Linked DNA regions of Homo sapiens: region 2 is linked to region 1. Evidence: promoter capture Hi-C in human tissues and cell types (Jung and others, 2019). All regions are on one chromosome and are shown on one strand. The core of a region is centred on a gene start or on the middle of the fragment in contact, and the rest is flanking DNA. Distances in the headings are between cores, read along the strand shown. Region 1 holds the start of C2orf80 (chromosome 2 open reading frame 80). Region 2 overlaps IDH1 (isocitrate dehydrogenase (NADP(+)) 1).

Region 1 (7,678 bases), core at 3,516-6,015:
AGCTTGCAGGGCCTCAGGAGGAAGGTAGTAGTGATTTTGAATTTACTCAGAAAAATGGAAGAAAAATTTGAAAACAGTTTGGGGACTTGTAACCCAGAAAGAATTTAGGAGTCAGTCCAAATTTTGAACAATAATAAAAACCCAAAAAACAATGGTCAAGACTAGAATCTAACAACACGTGTACTATAGTTTTTTGTAGTATAATTTTTTCTCTCTGAAGTCTCTCATTTTTATAAAAGATAAATCGTGGTAGGACCAATTTGTTTGCAAAATAAGTTTTAGTCTTATTATATTTTGCCTGATTTTTGCATAAAGGGCAGCAAGAATAATTATCTGCCATATAGGCTCTTTGTAAATAGGCTTTGATGGAACTTTGTTACATAAATAATCTCAGATTAGGTTTTTTAAGGTCTTGAGCCCAGCCACAGATTTATCTGTGCCAACAAACGCCTTTATGAGTTGGGTGAATTCCTCTCCTCTCGAGGTCCCAAGGTAACTTGGGGCTCCTGGGCCTGTCAGAAAGTGACATTTTTACTTACCACAAGTCAAGAACCCTGTACAGGGACTGCATAGACAAGGTGTGAGGCCAGTTTTCCCAAGGGGCTTTTATTGGCTCTATAAGTCAACTTTGACTCCTTAAAGCAGTCTGTTTATATTTGAAAGCATGCCACAGACTCCGTTTTGGGAAAAAATTCTGTTTTCCTCATGGAACCCCAGGAATTTTTTTTTTTTTTTTCTTGAGACAGAGTCTTGCTCTGTCGCCCAGGCTGGAGTGCAGTGGCACAATTTTGGCGGAATCTCGGCTCACTGCAAGCTCCGCCTCCCGGGTTCACGCCATTCTCCTGCCCCAGCCTCCTGAGTAGCTGGGACTACAGGCACCCGCCACCATGCCTGGCTAATTTTTTGTATTTTTAGTAGAGACGGGGTTTCACCGTGTTCGCCAGGATGGTCACGATCTCCTGACCTCGTGATCCGCCCGCCAAAGTGCTGGGATTACAGGCGTGAGGCACGGCGCTGGGCCGGAACCCCAGGAATTCTAAGTAGATAGATTCCTCTCAAAATCTAAGGCTTTGCTCTGTTTTGCATTGCATTATCTGATCTCTTTGACTTTTGGGTTCAAGAGAAGGGATGACAAGGTGGGTTACAAAGGACATGACTTGCCAGGCATGCTGCATGTCTGGGGCACCCACACAACAGAAGACTGCAATCAGGCTACCAAGCCAGAGGTCTCACAGCCACTTCCCCACCTGTCTAAAATAACGAACATAGGAAAGGACAGAGGAGCCAAAATCAAAGGGGAAAAAAAAGTAGCAAGTTGAAATTGGACAAAGGGAGACTCACCCACCCATCAGGTCTGAATGGTGCCAATTGGTTTTAGTCTGGGTTTCAGGGGGAGGTCTCCATTGTCCCTTCATTTGTTGTCAGAAAGGATGTCACAGGCTGAACACCAAAGGCCCTGTGATATTTGCCTTCGCACATTAAGGAATTCAAGAGCAAGCCAACAGAGTAAAGTGAAAGTAAAGGAATAAAAGGGTGGCTACTCCATAGGCAGAGCTGCTGGTTGGCTATTTTTATGTTTTTTTATGTTTTATGTTTTTGTGGGTTTTTTATGTTTATTTTTATGTTTTTTAAAAATCATATGCTAAACAAGGGATGGATTATTCATTAGTTTTTTGGGAAAGGGGTGGGCAATTCCTGGAACTGAGGGAATTCCTCCTGCTTTCAGACCATATAGGGTAACTTCCAGGCGTTGCCATGACATTTGTAAACTTTCACGGTGCTGGTGGGAGTATCTTTTAGCATATTAATATATTATAATGAGCATATAATGAGCAGTGAGGACAACTAGAGGTCATTTTCATCGCCATCTGGTTTTGGCGGGTTTTGACTGGCTTCTTTACTACATATCATTTTATCAGCCGGGTCTTTGTGATCTGTACCTTGTAAAACCAGTCCTGCCCAACTCCTGACTCACTGGCATGGCATCGGGATAGGCACACTGCCATCACTACCTCCATCAATGTGAGTCTTAGCAATGACCAGCCCCTGATAGACCACTGCACACGTGGACCTTCTATTTGCCTTCAAGGACTGAAGCTGGGAAGGTGACTATTGGGATCGATGAACACTTGGCTGAGTTGGACCAGCTGCAGCAGCCTCAGCTGGGGGCAGGGGTAAGGGAGTTAACAGGGATGAACAAGCCTAGCAAGGTCAAGGTTGAAGTTCTCCAAGGTTGCCTTTGGGTGAAAAGCTCTCTTGATCAAGAAATTGTGGAACACCTTATAATGAGGTATCAACAATAGGGAGTCAAAAAGAAAAATAACTCAGTTTATTTTCTGTTTTTTTGGTTTGTTTGTTTGTTTGTTTGTTTGTTTGTTTGTTTTTGAGACAGGGCCTCACTCTTTCACCCAGGCTGGAGTGGAGGGGTGTAATCACAGCTTACTACAGCCTCAGCCTCCTGGGTTCAAGCAATCCCCCCACCTCAGCCTGCTGAGTAGCTTGGACTGTAGGGACACACCACAATGCCCAGCTAGTTTTTATCATTTTTTGTAGAGACAGGATTTTGCCATGTTGCTCAGTCTGATCTTGAACTCTTAGGCTCAGGCAATCTACCCACCTCAGCTTCCTAAAGTGCTGGGATGACAGGCATGAGCTACCACACCCAGCCTACAGTTTAGTTTTAATTATAAACAAAATATTAGAATAAATTGAAAATGGCTGGGCGTGGTGGCTTATGCCTGTCATCCCAGCACTTTGGGAGGCCAAGGCAGATGGATCATTTGAGCCCAGGAGTTTGAGACCAGCCAGGGCAACATAGTGAGACCTCATTGCTACAAAAAAAAAAATTAATTAAAAAATAAAAAATTGTCTGGGTGCGGTGGCTCACGCCTGTAATCCCAGCACTTTGGGAGGCCGAGGCGGGCAGATCACCTGAGGTCGGGAGTTCAAGACCAGCCTCATCAACATGGAGAAACCCTGTCTCTACTAAAAATACAAAGTTAGCCGGGCGTGGTGGCGCATGCCTGTAATCCCAGCTACTCCAGAGGCTGAGGCAGGAGAATCGCTTGAATCCGGGAGGCGGAGGTTGTGGTGAGCCAAGATCACACCATTGCACTCCAGCCTGGGCAACAAGAGCAAAACTCCATCTCAAAAAAATGAATAAATAAATAAATAAATAAAAGTAAACAGTCATAGTAGAGGAGAGACTGAATTATTTTTTAATTCTCTCTATAGAAAATACTATGAAACCTTGGTCCTATTAACAGATAATCAAAGAGTATGTAAGAAAAAAAGGAATTTTAGTGTATGTTAGGCAGTTAGTAATCATGAAAATATTAATACTGATTTTTTGTTTGTGGTATTTTTCAGCTCTTTAAAATTTGTAACTTGTAATTAATAGTTCTAAATAAACATACAATTTTGTATTAGTTTCATATTTACAATTCTGCATTCTTTTTATTAAAGACGGTCCCCATAATGTATAAACTTCAGGCTCACCAAACCCGGAAGTGTCTAGGTACAATATAAACTCAATATGGAGTGAACAACTAGTTTAGAAAATTCTATATCTAGGGTTTTGTTAGTGTCTTTCATAATATGACCTCAGGTAATCAAGTGACTTACTTGGCCAGTGGAAAGGAGTGGAAATAAAGATTAAGAGGTGTCAATAACAGACACCCAGCCGTAGATGGGCCAGAAGAACAAACTCTGCCCCTAGTCTAGTGGTATAGAGGAGACACAGACAGAAACCATTAACAAGCTTTAAGCAAGGGAGCAAGTGTTTAAGACTAGGAGGCAGGCGTGTGGGCAGGGATTGTCAGGCCTCTGAGCCCAAGCCAAGCCATCACATCCCCTGTGACTTGCACATATACATCCAGATGGCCTAAAGTAACTGAAGATCCACAAAAGAAGTAAAAATAGTCTTAAGTGATGACATTCCACCATTGTGATTTGTTTCTTCCCCACCCTAACTGATCAATGTGCTTTGTAATCTCCCCCCGCTTAAGCAGGTACTTTGTAATCTCCCCCACCTTTAAGAAGGTTCTTTGTAATTCTCCCCACCCTTGAGCATGTAGTTTGTGAGATCCACCCCCTGCCCACAAAACATTGCTCCTAACTCCACCGCCTATCCCAAAACCTATAAGAACTAATGATAATCCACCACCCTTTGCTGACTCTCTTTTCGGACTCAGCCCGCCTGCACCCAGTTGAAATAAACAGCCATGTTGCTCACACAAAGCCTGTTTGGTGGTCTCTTCACACAGACGCACATGAAAGGGATCTCATCTATAATTAGAAAGATGGTGCTAGCTTGAACCCAGGTGATGTTTCTTCAGGATTGCCACTGTTTTGTATTGACATTCATCGAGTAGAATGATCTTTGGGTCATTGGGTACTTTGGGGCACCCTAACTATGTAGGAGCCAGAGTTTCACTAGCTTCCCCAGCAATCCTTGCTTAGTCAATTGATTCCTATGTCTGCAGCCAAATGCTATAAAAAACTCTGGGGAAGGTAAACTCCTCCCATCCTCTTGGTTTTTCAATTAATCATTTAGATGGGAAACATAAGCCTACTCAGGTAAAAAGACACGTGAACTTCAGGCCAGGATCACAATCCTGTCCCAAATATATGACTTTCCACCCTCCCTCAACCCTTAATGGGGGTGGGCGTAGGGGAGTGTATTTTTAAAACAAATGATTTTAATTCATTCACTGTTTCCTAGCAACCAGGAAAAAGCATGTGTTCCTGATGTCTGTGAGCACCAGTCTGAGATGCGCGGATGCTTCAGCATGCCTCCAGAAGCAGAGAAAGAACAAAAGCACTGGAACCGGTCTCCGGTTGGTGAGCGATTCTCAAAGGGGAATTTGTTAAGAGCAGGCACTTAATAGAACAGCCCGAGAGACCTGTACCACGATTGCAGGTGTGCAGCAGGGAACCTGCATGGAATGTGCAGATATTCTCCAGGAAATGATATTCCTATAGAATTTGGGGGCTCTGACTTCTAGGGAATTGTTTCTATGAAACAGCTAAAGCCTGAGACAGCTGACATCTTTCCAGTACCTCTTTTGTGTGTGCTTTCAGCCACACACAAAACACACAGCGGTCTTGTTTTCTTTAGAGCTCTATAGACAGAGAAGAGGGATAACTGGCAGAATTCAAATCTAGCTGAATTAGAATCCATGCAAATGGCCTTCTTTAGACCAGGCGTAGCTACTAAATGCATATAAATCACTGACTTCCACAGCTGTAAGGGACCTCTCCAATCATTCAACGCTTGTTTTACAGAGGAAGAAATGAAAAAACATAGGCAAATTAATTTGTTCAAGGTGCACAGCTAGTTGGTGGCCTCACAGGGTCTTCTGACCTACAGTTTAGTGGTTTGGGAGTGGGACATACTCATATTTTAAAGACTGAAACCTTTGCATATTATACCATATTGAATGGTGGTGGTGGGGGCAGGGGATGGGGAGGATGAGGGATGATCTAAGACGAAGCTGTCATAACAACGAAGCAATGCAAATATTATAACTTGTAAATCTGAAACTCAAAGGGCTTTCTCAGAATTACAAGACAAGAATGGATTAAAGCACATGCTAACTGTGCCTTACTCCCTGCCAAGGAATTGAGATAGGCCAAATAGTCTAGCAACAAATGTTTTTCCAAACTATTGAATCAGAAGAATTTTAATGCATGCCAGACTTTATAGAGTTACAGAATGTTAGGGTAAGAAGTGCTCTTGGCAATGTTAACCAGGCCCATCTTTTTCGGATAACACCTGAGGCTGGGAAGCAGAAGACGCACAGCCACATCAATGAGTGTGGCTTTCCTGGGTCCAGTGCTCTCTCTTCTCTAGGCAATAGGGCCACCTCTATGGCTTGCTGCATCCTCTCCCCATTGACTCTGTAGGGAGCAATATTATTGTCTTGATACTTAATCAATTTCCTGTGAAATGCTCTTACTTTCTTCCCCACTTTCATCTTATCCACATCCCGTCCACTCCCCAAAAACTAAAGCAGATGTAGCAGCAGCAAGAATGATCCAAAATGGCTGGGCACGGTGGCTCACGCCTGTAATCCCAGCACTTTGGGAGGCTGAGGCAGGTGGATTACAAGGTCAGGAGATGGAGACCATCCTGGCCAATATGATGACACCACCCGGTCTCTACTAAAAGTACAAAACAATTAGCTGGGCTTGGTGGCGTGCACCTGTAGTCCCAGCTACTTGGGAGGCTGAGGCAGGAGAATCACTTGAACCCAGGAGGCAGAGGTTGCAGTGAACCGAAATTGTGCCACTGCACTCCAGCCTGGTGACAGACCGAGACTCCGTCTCAAAAAAAAAAAAAAAATCCAAAATAATGAAGGTGGCCTAGGGAAGCATTCATTTAGATCAGCGCCATCCTGTTGGCTCTCTGCTTACTGTTGGTAGAGCTGAATCAAGTGAAGCTTAGTGTTTATATGGTACCATTTTCAAAAAACCGTTTCTAAAGTTTGTTTTCCAATCATCTTTAGAGTAGTGATTTAAATATACGTACAATTTTAAAAGTACAAAGGGTAGTATAATGAACATCCATGGACTTAGAATTCCAGAGTCAACAACTATTAACATTTTGTTATATTTGAGTATTAGGGTTCCTCAGAGAAATTGAACTGACAGGATGTGTGTGGATACACACACACACACACACACACACACACACACACACACACACGGTGCAGTATAGGCTTAACCATCTCTTTCAAATATTTTGATTTTACAGAATTGGCTCACATGATTGTGGAGTCTTGGCCAGTCCAAAATCTGATAGAGGAGGCCAGCTGCCAGCAGACTCAGGGAAGAGTTGCAGTTTGAATCCAAAGGCTGCCTACTGGCAGATTCCTTCTTGCATGGGGGAGGTCAGTCTTTTGTTCTATCAAGGCTTTCGACTGATTGGAAAAGGCTCACTCAGATAGAGGGCAATCTGCTTTCAAAGTCCACTGATTTAAATGATAATCTCATTAAAAAAAAAACACCAGAAACATCCGGGATAAAGTTTGAACAACTATTTGATCATAGAGGCCCAACCATAAAATAAATTTAAAAATAAATAAAACATCACAAATAGAGTTGATACCCTATTTATACCTCTCCCTGTGTACCCCATTCAATAGTGATGATTTTCTATAGACTCCTTTTTGGTGACTTCAGACTCCTTTTGACCCCATCACCTGATCTTCAATTTCTGGTTCAATGTGGGGGTGGGAATTGAAGACATATTTCCCATAACCATATTTTCTTTCAAGGATCTCCTGGCAATAGGAGAGTGTAGATGGATTCTATGGAAAACTCCATTATGAGCCACTGAGCCAGGGTGAACTCACTGGGAGTTGAATGCTCACAGAAAAACCCAAACACATTCAGATCTAGATGGATCACATCCATCTAGTTTGGATGGTTCTGCCCGAATAGTCTCATCAGCTATTACACAAACCATTTTGGTTTTACTTGCTAGATTATTGCAAGGAAGAGTAAATTAAGTAAATAAGTGTTGGAAAAATTTGGAAGGAATAAAAGGTGTCAAATAAACACAAAAGTACAGTGCATGAGCCTCCAGGTGGCTTTTTGACCCTGAACCTGCCGAGTAAGAGGCCTGAATGAGGTGCTCCCTCAGATCCCTTCCAGAGCCTAGGACTCCATGACT
Region 2 (7,678 bases), core at 1,762-4,261, 45 kb before region 1:
ATCACGAGGTCAGGAGATCAAGACCATCCTGGCTAACACAGTGAAACCCCATCTCCACTAAAAATACAAAAAATTAACCAGGCGTGGTGGCGGGCACCTGTAGTCCCAGCTACTCGGGAGGCTGAGGCAGGAGAATGGCGTGAACCTGGGAGGCGGAGCTTGCAGTGAGCCGAGATGGTGCCACTGCACTCCAGCCTGCGTGACAGAGCGAGACTCCATCTCAAAAAAAAAAAAAAGATTGCAGTGTTCAAAATGGTCTTATCAGTGGAATACCTTTGTAGCCTATTTAACAGGCACCTGTCAGCAGGATTATGTTATCCTGTCTTTTGTTTTTCTTTTTTTTTCTTTTTATTGAGACAGAGTCTCGCTTTGCCCAGGCTGGAGTGCAGTGGCGTGATCTTCGCTCACTGCAACCTCCGCCTCCTGGGTTCAAGTGATTCTTCTGCCTCAGCCTCCCAAGTAGCTGGGACTTGTGCCACAACACCCGGCTAATTTTTTTTTTTTTTTTTTTGTATTTTTAGTAGAGACGGGGTTTCACTTTGTTAGCCAGGATGGTCTCCATCTCCTGACCTCATGATCCACCCGCCTTGGCCCCCCAAAGTGCTGGGATTATAGGCGTGAGCCACCAGGCCCGGCCTGTCTTTTGTTTTTCTTAAGACACTGATAGAAATAACAACATTATAACTTTTTTTAAGGACATGTAACGGTTTGTGGGAAGGTGGGTAAAGGTTTGGCTATGCCCTGAATAAGTTTTGTTATGTTTAAGAATGAGGAAGAAGTGTGATGATTTTGGTCTCAGCAGCATTAGTCTGAACCGAAACTCAATGATAATTTCACCCCCAAAGCTACATAGCAAGAAACCTAACTGAGTATGTATGGCTGTCTCTACTGCCGGTTGCCTAGAGAGCCTGAGTACTGAGCCTGGGTCAGCCCCAGGAACCCTGAACATAGTCATTGTCTATAGATTTTGTAGCTTACTAACATGAATGCGTTTTCTTCCAGAAACAAATAGAATACTATTTTAAGTAGCATTTCTAGGACTTTACCACTACCTGCTACCATATCAGAGACCAACTAAATTTTCTTTTTTTTTTCCTTCCCGTTAGTGTGCAACGTTCTGACTACTTGAATACATTTGAGTTCATGGATAAACTTGGAGAAAACTTGAAGATCAAACTAGCTCAGGCCAAACTTTAAGTTCATACCTGAGCTAAGAAGGATAATTGTCTTTTGGTAACTAGGTCTACAGGTTTACATTTTTCTGTGTTACACTCAAGGATAAAGGCAAAATCAATTTTGTAATTTGTTTAGAAGCCAGAGTTTATCTTTTCTATAAGTTTACAGCCTTTTTCTTATATATACAGTTATTGCCACCTTTGTGAACATGGCAAGGGACTTTTTTACAATTTTTATTTTATTTTCTAGTACCAGCCTAGGAATTCGGTTAGTACTCATTTGTATTCACTGTCACTTTTTCTCATGTTCTAATTATAAATGACCAAAATCAAGATTGCTCAAAAGGGTAAATGATAGCCACAGTATTGCTCCCTAAAATATGCATAAAGTAGAAATTCACTGCCTTCCCCTCCTGTCCATGACCTTGGGCACAGGGAAGTTCTGGTGTCATAGATATCCCGTTTTGTGAGGTAGAGCTGTGCATTAAACTTGCACATGACTGGAACGAAGTAGGAGTGCAACTCAAATGTGTTGAAGATACTGCAGTCATTTTTGTAAAGACCTTGCTGAATGTTTCCAATAGACTAAATACTGTTTAGGCCGCAGGAGAGTTTGGAATCCGGAATAAATACTACCTGGAGGTTTGTCCTCTCCATTTTTCTCTTTCTCCTCCTGGCCTGGCCTGAATATTATACTACTCTAAATAGCATATTTCATCCAAGTGCAATAATGTAAGCTGAATCTTTTTTGGACTTCTGCTGGCCTGTTTTATTTCTTTTATATAAATGTGATTTCTCAGAAATTGATATTAAACACTATCTTATCTTCTCCTGAACTGTTGATTTTAATTAAAATTAAGTGCTAATTACCATTCTTCTGCGTTTCTGTTTATTGGATGCCAAGCACCACGCTACATCCTAGCCATAGGAGTGTAATCTGAAAAAATTCTCTGCTCTTAAAAAGTTTACCATGGTGGAAATAGATAAGTAAATAGTAAGATGTAGATCCTGCAGTGAAAGGAAAGAGGACCAAAGAGGGAACTACAGGAAGAATTAAGGAATATTAGAGAATAGATTATGTCTATGCACATGCTAAGGAGTTTAGTCATTATCTTATAAATGATTAGGGAGCCAATGAAGACTTTTAAGAAATAAGGGACTTGATCATATTTTTATTTTTAAAAATAGCACTCTGGGAAACTTTGATAAAAAATGGATAGTGGCTTTGAGAGGCCAAGGCAGGCAGATCACAAGGTCAGGAGTTCGAGACCAGCCTGGCCAATACGGTGAAACCCCATCTCTACTGAAAATACAAAAATTAGCCAGGTGTGGTGGCGCACACCTGTAGTCCCAGCTACTTGGGAGGCTGAGGCAGAAGAATCGCTTGAACCTGAGAGGTGGAGGTTGTAGTGAGCTGAGATCGTACCACCGCACTCCAGCCTGGATGACAAAGTGAGACTCCGTCTCAAAAAAACGAAAAAAGAATGGATGGTTTGGGGTGGGGAGGAGACTGTTGGGTGCAGTTGAGGAAGGAGGACCAGTTAGGAGGCTGTTGCGATACTTTAGTGGGAAATGATGAAGATCTGACTGGAACAGTGGCACCAGGAAGAGAACGGGATAATCCCTGGGATAAGGAAGTTGAATGGATGGGTCTTGGCAAGACCAAGGATATGTGGGGATGGAGGGACAGCAGCAAGTCAAAGATGCTTCCCACTTTCTGGCTTCACACCTGGGGAAAGGCTGCTCCACATCCTAGCATCTCTGGGAGGGAGGCCCTGGTGAGCTTTTGCGCTCTCACACGTCAGAAGTCAGTGAGTTGGGGTGGGGACCCTTGGTAATTTCTAGTCTACCTTCCTGGCAAGCTTGGAGTTGGGCCCCAGACACTGCTCTACACAAATCCCCTTGAAGGCCCAATGAAACATGGAGCCTTTCAGAATCCGATGGCATGGAGCTTATTCAGAATGAGCTTTTGACCAATTTCCCTCAGTGCTACCCCCAAAATACATCCAAATCCAAGCCCACAGTCCTAGAACACCCTGTTGAGAGGAGATTCTCATGAAGTAGGGGAGGCCCATGTGGCTTGGGCAATTTATTCCTGGCCAAATTGAAGTTAGAATCCAAACCACATGAGCTCTCCTGGCAAGGGAAATAAAAATCAATTTTCACATGAGATCAACCAGTGTCAGGTCACTCAGGTGGTAGGAAAAAAAAAAAAGCATTGCTTCTAGTTAACATCAAGAAAGAGGCAATAAATATTTTCATCTCATGTAAGATTTTTAAGATTTTTCAGTAAAAGATTTTATAACCTATATTATCTGTAGTTTTGTAAAAAGAATAGAGATCTACGTAAATTAGAATACAAGACACATAATCGTTGTTTCTCTGGTGGCTTTTTGCTGATAAATTCAACTAGTCTTTGCCTCAATATAACGACATGCCAATGACTCATTTTAACATTAATACCTGTAAGTTTTTTTAATAGGATAGATTGGGATTATAAGGAAAAGGAATGTAAATTCTTTTTATGTGCCTTCATACTATCTCATTTAATTCTCACCAAAGTCTTAAGAAGTTGACTCTATAGCACTGATTTTTTTATGAGAAAGCAAAAAATTAGAGATGTTATTAATAATTAACTTAAAGGTGGAGCTGATATTTTCTTCCAAAAGGCCACAGGTCTTTCTCTCTTTGGAAAATAGATTTTTTTTTTTTTTTCTGAGATGGAGTCTTGCTCTTTTGCCCAGGCTAGAGTGCAACGGTGTGATCTTGCCTCACTGCAGCCTCCGCCTCCTGGGTCCAAGCAATTCACCTGCCTCAGCCTCCCAAGTAGCTGGGATTACAGGTGCCGGCCACCAAGCCTGGCTAATTTTTGTATTTTTAATAGAGATGGGGTTTCACCATGTTGGCCAGGCTGGTCTTGAACTCCCAACCTTCCACCTTGGCCTCCCAAGGTGCTGGGATTACAGGCGTGAGCCACCGCACCCAGCCAAAAACATATTTAAAGCCCTTTGATGTCCAATATACTGGTTAAATGTAGTGTTCTTCAGATTATTACATATTTGGCTTTTTATAAAATTCAAATTGTTTTAACATTTTAAACTTTACATCCAAAAAAAATTGTCAAATAAAATGTGTTTTGCACTCTCCTCCTCTCATCTAAACTTATTACTCAGCTGAGCACAGTGGTTCATGCTTGTAATCCCAGCATTTTAGGAGGCTTGAGGTCAGGAGTTCGAGACCAGCCTGGCCAACATGGTGAAACCCCATCTCTACTAAAAATACAAAAATTAGCCAGGCGTGGTGGTTGTAGTTACTCAGGAGGCAGAAGCAAGAGAAACACTTGAACCTGGGAGGCAGAGGTTGCAGTGAGCCAAGATTATGCCACCGCAGTCCAGCCTGGGCAACGGAATGAGACTCCATCTCAAAAAAATAATAAAAATTTTAAAAAATAAACTTATTACTCTTTTTTCAGATTTTTGCCTGGTAAACTCTTCATAACTGTTAGAGCATCCATTTCCTCTTTCATTAACAAGATTTTAATAAATTTTAAAAGAGTTTTGGGCCGGGCATGGTGGCTCACACCTGTAATCCCAGCACTTTGGGAGGCTGAGGCAGGCGGATCTCTTGAGGTCAAGACCAGCCTAGCCAACATGGCGAAACCCCGTCTCTACTAAAAATACAAAAATTAGCCAGGCATGGTGGTGGTCACCTGTAGTCCCAGCTACTCAGGGGGCTGAGGCAGGAGAATCCCTTGAACCGGGGAGGCGGAGGTTGCAGTGAGCTGAGATTGTACCACTGCACTCCATCCTGGGCAACAGAGTGAGATTCCGTCTCCAAAAAAAAAAAAAAAAAAGTGTTTTGTTTCTACTACTTTTACCAAAGTTGCAAAATACATCAGTGGCCATTTTGGACCAGAACTTGGGACTCACATTTCAGGTTTGGGTAGGAGATGAAAGCATCACATACAACAAAATGATGGCATTGGACTGGGTGATTTTAAATAGTTCCTCCAGCACTCACAAGCATCCTCAGAGTTGATCTGGTGAGTGCAGATCAACATTTGGCCTAATGTCTATCAGGATCAGCATTTGGCCAAGAACCAGTTAATGTTCTAAAATAATTAGCAAATGAACAGATGCTGACCAATACATTCAGAGGCTGATGGTTTATTATGTAACAACTAGAGGGTCAGAATTGTTGACCTAGAAAATGACTGCTCTTTAGCACAACATTGAAGGCAGCAGGATCCAGGGACAGGGAACATATGAGTTCCAGACTTCAAAACTCTAAATTGTAGGTACTGTTTCTTAGGAAGAATTTCTAACTGAAAATATTTAAAATTTAATCTTAGCAGTCAGAATCACAGCTCCCTTGTGTTCTTGCTTGATACATAAAATCCTTCTACAATATTAACAAGTGACCCATCATCTACTTCAATATTACATAATAAATATTTCCCCCAAATTAAGGGTCTTGGCTCTTCTTATTAAGAAGGAAATTAGAAACTAATATAAAGAATGATAATAATGATAATGAAGACTTTGAATATTTATATCAATACTGATAAAAGTTTTGCACTCACCTCTCTAGTATTAGAGATTTTCACAACCCCTATTTTTAATATTAGGGAGAATGTAGCTTCCAAACTGTAAATTCCTCTGGAACAAGAAACTCAAAGAACTCTGAATTTGAATGATATCTCAGACTCTGCAGGAGGTGAATTTTGCAGATATTGTAGCATTGTTTATGAAACTGGCCCAATTGTCCCATAGAACTAATGTTTATGGTTTTTCTGAATAAACATAGAAATTGGCCCTCCTAGTCTTAAAACGAAAAAGTTACATTTGTCTTATCTGAGTTCCTTTCTCAAGAAATAAACCATCAGGGCTCTCAGATAGCATCAAGGAATTGGAATTTACCAGATGACTGCATCTGAACAAGGAAACATCAGACCCCTCACCCATCATGATTGTGAAGCAATTACCTGCTTCCTGTTGACCAACTCCTCTTCCTTACTCCTCCCTAATTCCTGTTTCCCTGAATGTTGTTACATTCCTTCCCTACTTTATAAACTCTTAATTTTAGTCAGTCAGGTAGATGGATTTGAGACTGATCTCAAATCAGTGGGTGAGACAGATTGGGTTCAACTCTGAATACAGCATGGGCAAGTGGGAATTTATAGCCAAGGAGCAGGGTGGGGTCAATGGATGGAAAATTACCAAGAGTAAACATCAGGGGTGAGGGGGATTCTGGCTAAAGCAACCAATAGGATTCTTGCTGAAGAGAGACCAGAATGATCAGACATCACCCAGGAGATGGTGGAAGATGAGGAATATGATCACACACTGAAGATGATCAGATATCAATAATGTGGGGGTTCCTTGCTAAAGTGACTTGGCAGGGTCCTTTGCTAAAACTGGATTTTACGAGAAAATACACAGATGGACCTAGCAGAAGATTCAGAAGCCTGACTAAAGTTCGACCAAGCAAAACTGTATCTTTGTCAAGTGATACAGCATCCTTCTCAGTGTATGACAATACGGGAAGAGGGGGAAGGATGCATAATGTTGGTTTGTCCTCACGTTGGTGAAATTAGCTTTGCTTATTTGGTGAAGGTGGTAGCTGCCTTGTGAATTTACTGTTCTCTCCTTTGTAAATGTAAGTAACGTGTAGGGAGATGCTGTGTATGCACACTGCTCATCATCAAGCTTCACCCATTGTTTCAACGTCCATTGATGATTTTATAACTCCATCACACCTTCTATAATTATCACACATTAGCATAAAAAGAGTATATATTTATATTACCATAAAGAACAGCTTTCTCTTCCTTCCATTCATCTATATTGGTATTATTGGTATAGACTCACAGATCCCTTTTTTTTTTTGAGACAGGGTCTTGCCCTGTCACTCAGGCTTGACTGCAATGGCATGCTCACAGCTCACCACAGCTTCAACCTCCCAGGCTCAAGTGATCTTCCCTCCTCAGCCTCCCTAGTAGCTGGGACAACAGGCATGCACCACCATGCCCAGCTAATTTTTGTGTTTTTTTGTTGAGATGGGGTTTCGCCACGTTGTCCATGCTGGTCTCGAACTCCTGGACTCAAGGGATCCACCTGCCTCAGCCTCCCAAAGTGCTGGGATTACAGGCGTGAGCCACTGTGCCCAGCCTGGACTCACAGATTCTTATTTTATTCAATGGACTGTAATTTACAGCCATCTTCATGTATTTTGATGCTTAGATTGTCTCAGATTTGGCCAGTGGGAATCCTATCAAGCTGGGTTGTCTCAGGATTGTAACATATTTTGCAAACAGTTAATTTGGGTATACTGTCTTGTATATTAAGCCACCTAGTAGTATGATTCACTTTTCTTAAGTGAGGCTTCCTCCGAGAAGAGCTTTCATGTGCGATGCTCCTTTTCTACCAATAGAATGTATTGGTCCACGCGTTCCTTTCCAGATCTAACCAGACAATGTCTCAGCAGAAAGTATTGTTGAAAGA

The links. The method cuts DNA at HindIII sites, captures the fragments that hold promoters and counts their contacts. A contact is called where the count stands out against the background at its distance.
Region 2: a fragment that was not itself captured here is called in contact with the fragment with the promoter of C2orf80 in region 1 in 3 of the 25 tissues and cell types used here (mesendoderm cells, spleen and thymus).

Annotation. Positions count from the first base shown.
Region 1 is chr2:208,187,117-208,194,794 of GRCh38, reverse strand. C2orf80 (chromosome 2 open reading frame 80) reads left to right here and starts at 4,765. Exons shown (of 9, transcript NM_001099334.3): 1 at 4,765-4,842. The HindIII fragment of the contact is 5,855 bases long and covers 1,879-7,678 here.
Region 2 is chr2:208,230,598-208,238,275 of GRCh38, reverse strand. It overlaps IDH1 (isocitrate dehydrogenase (NADP(+)) 1), which reads left to right. Exons shown (of 10, transcript NM_005896.4): 10 at 1,107-2,047. The coding sequence ends at 1,197. Among named protein-coding and RNA genes, the nearest start is that of IDH1, 21 kb to the left of the region's middle. The HindIII fragment of the contact is 3,898 bases long and covers 1,063-4,960 here.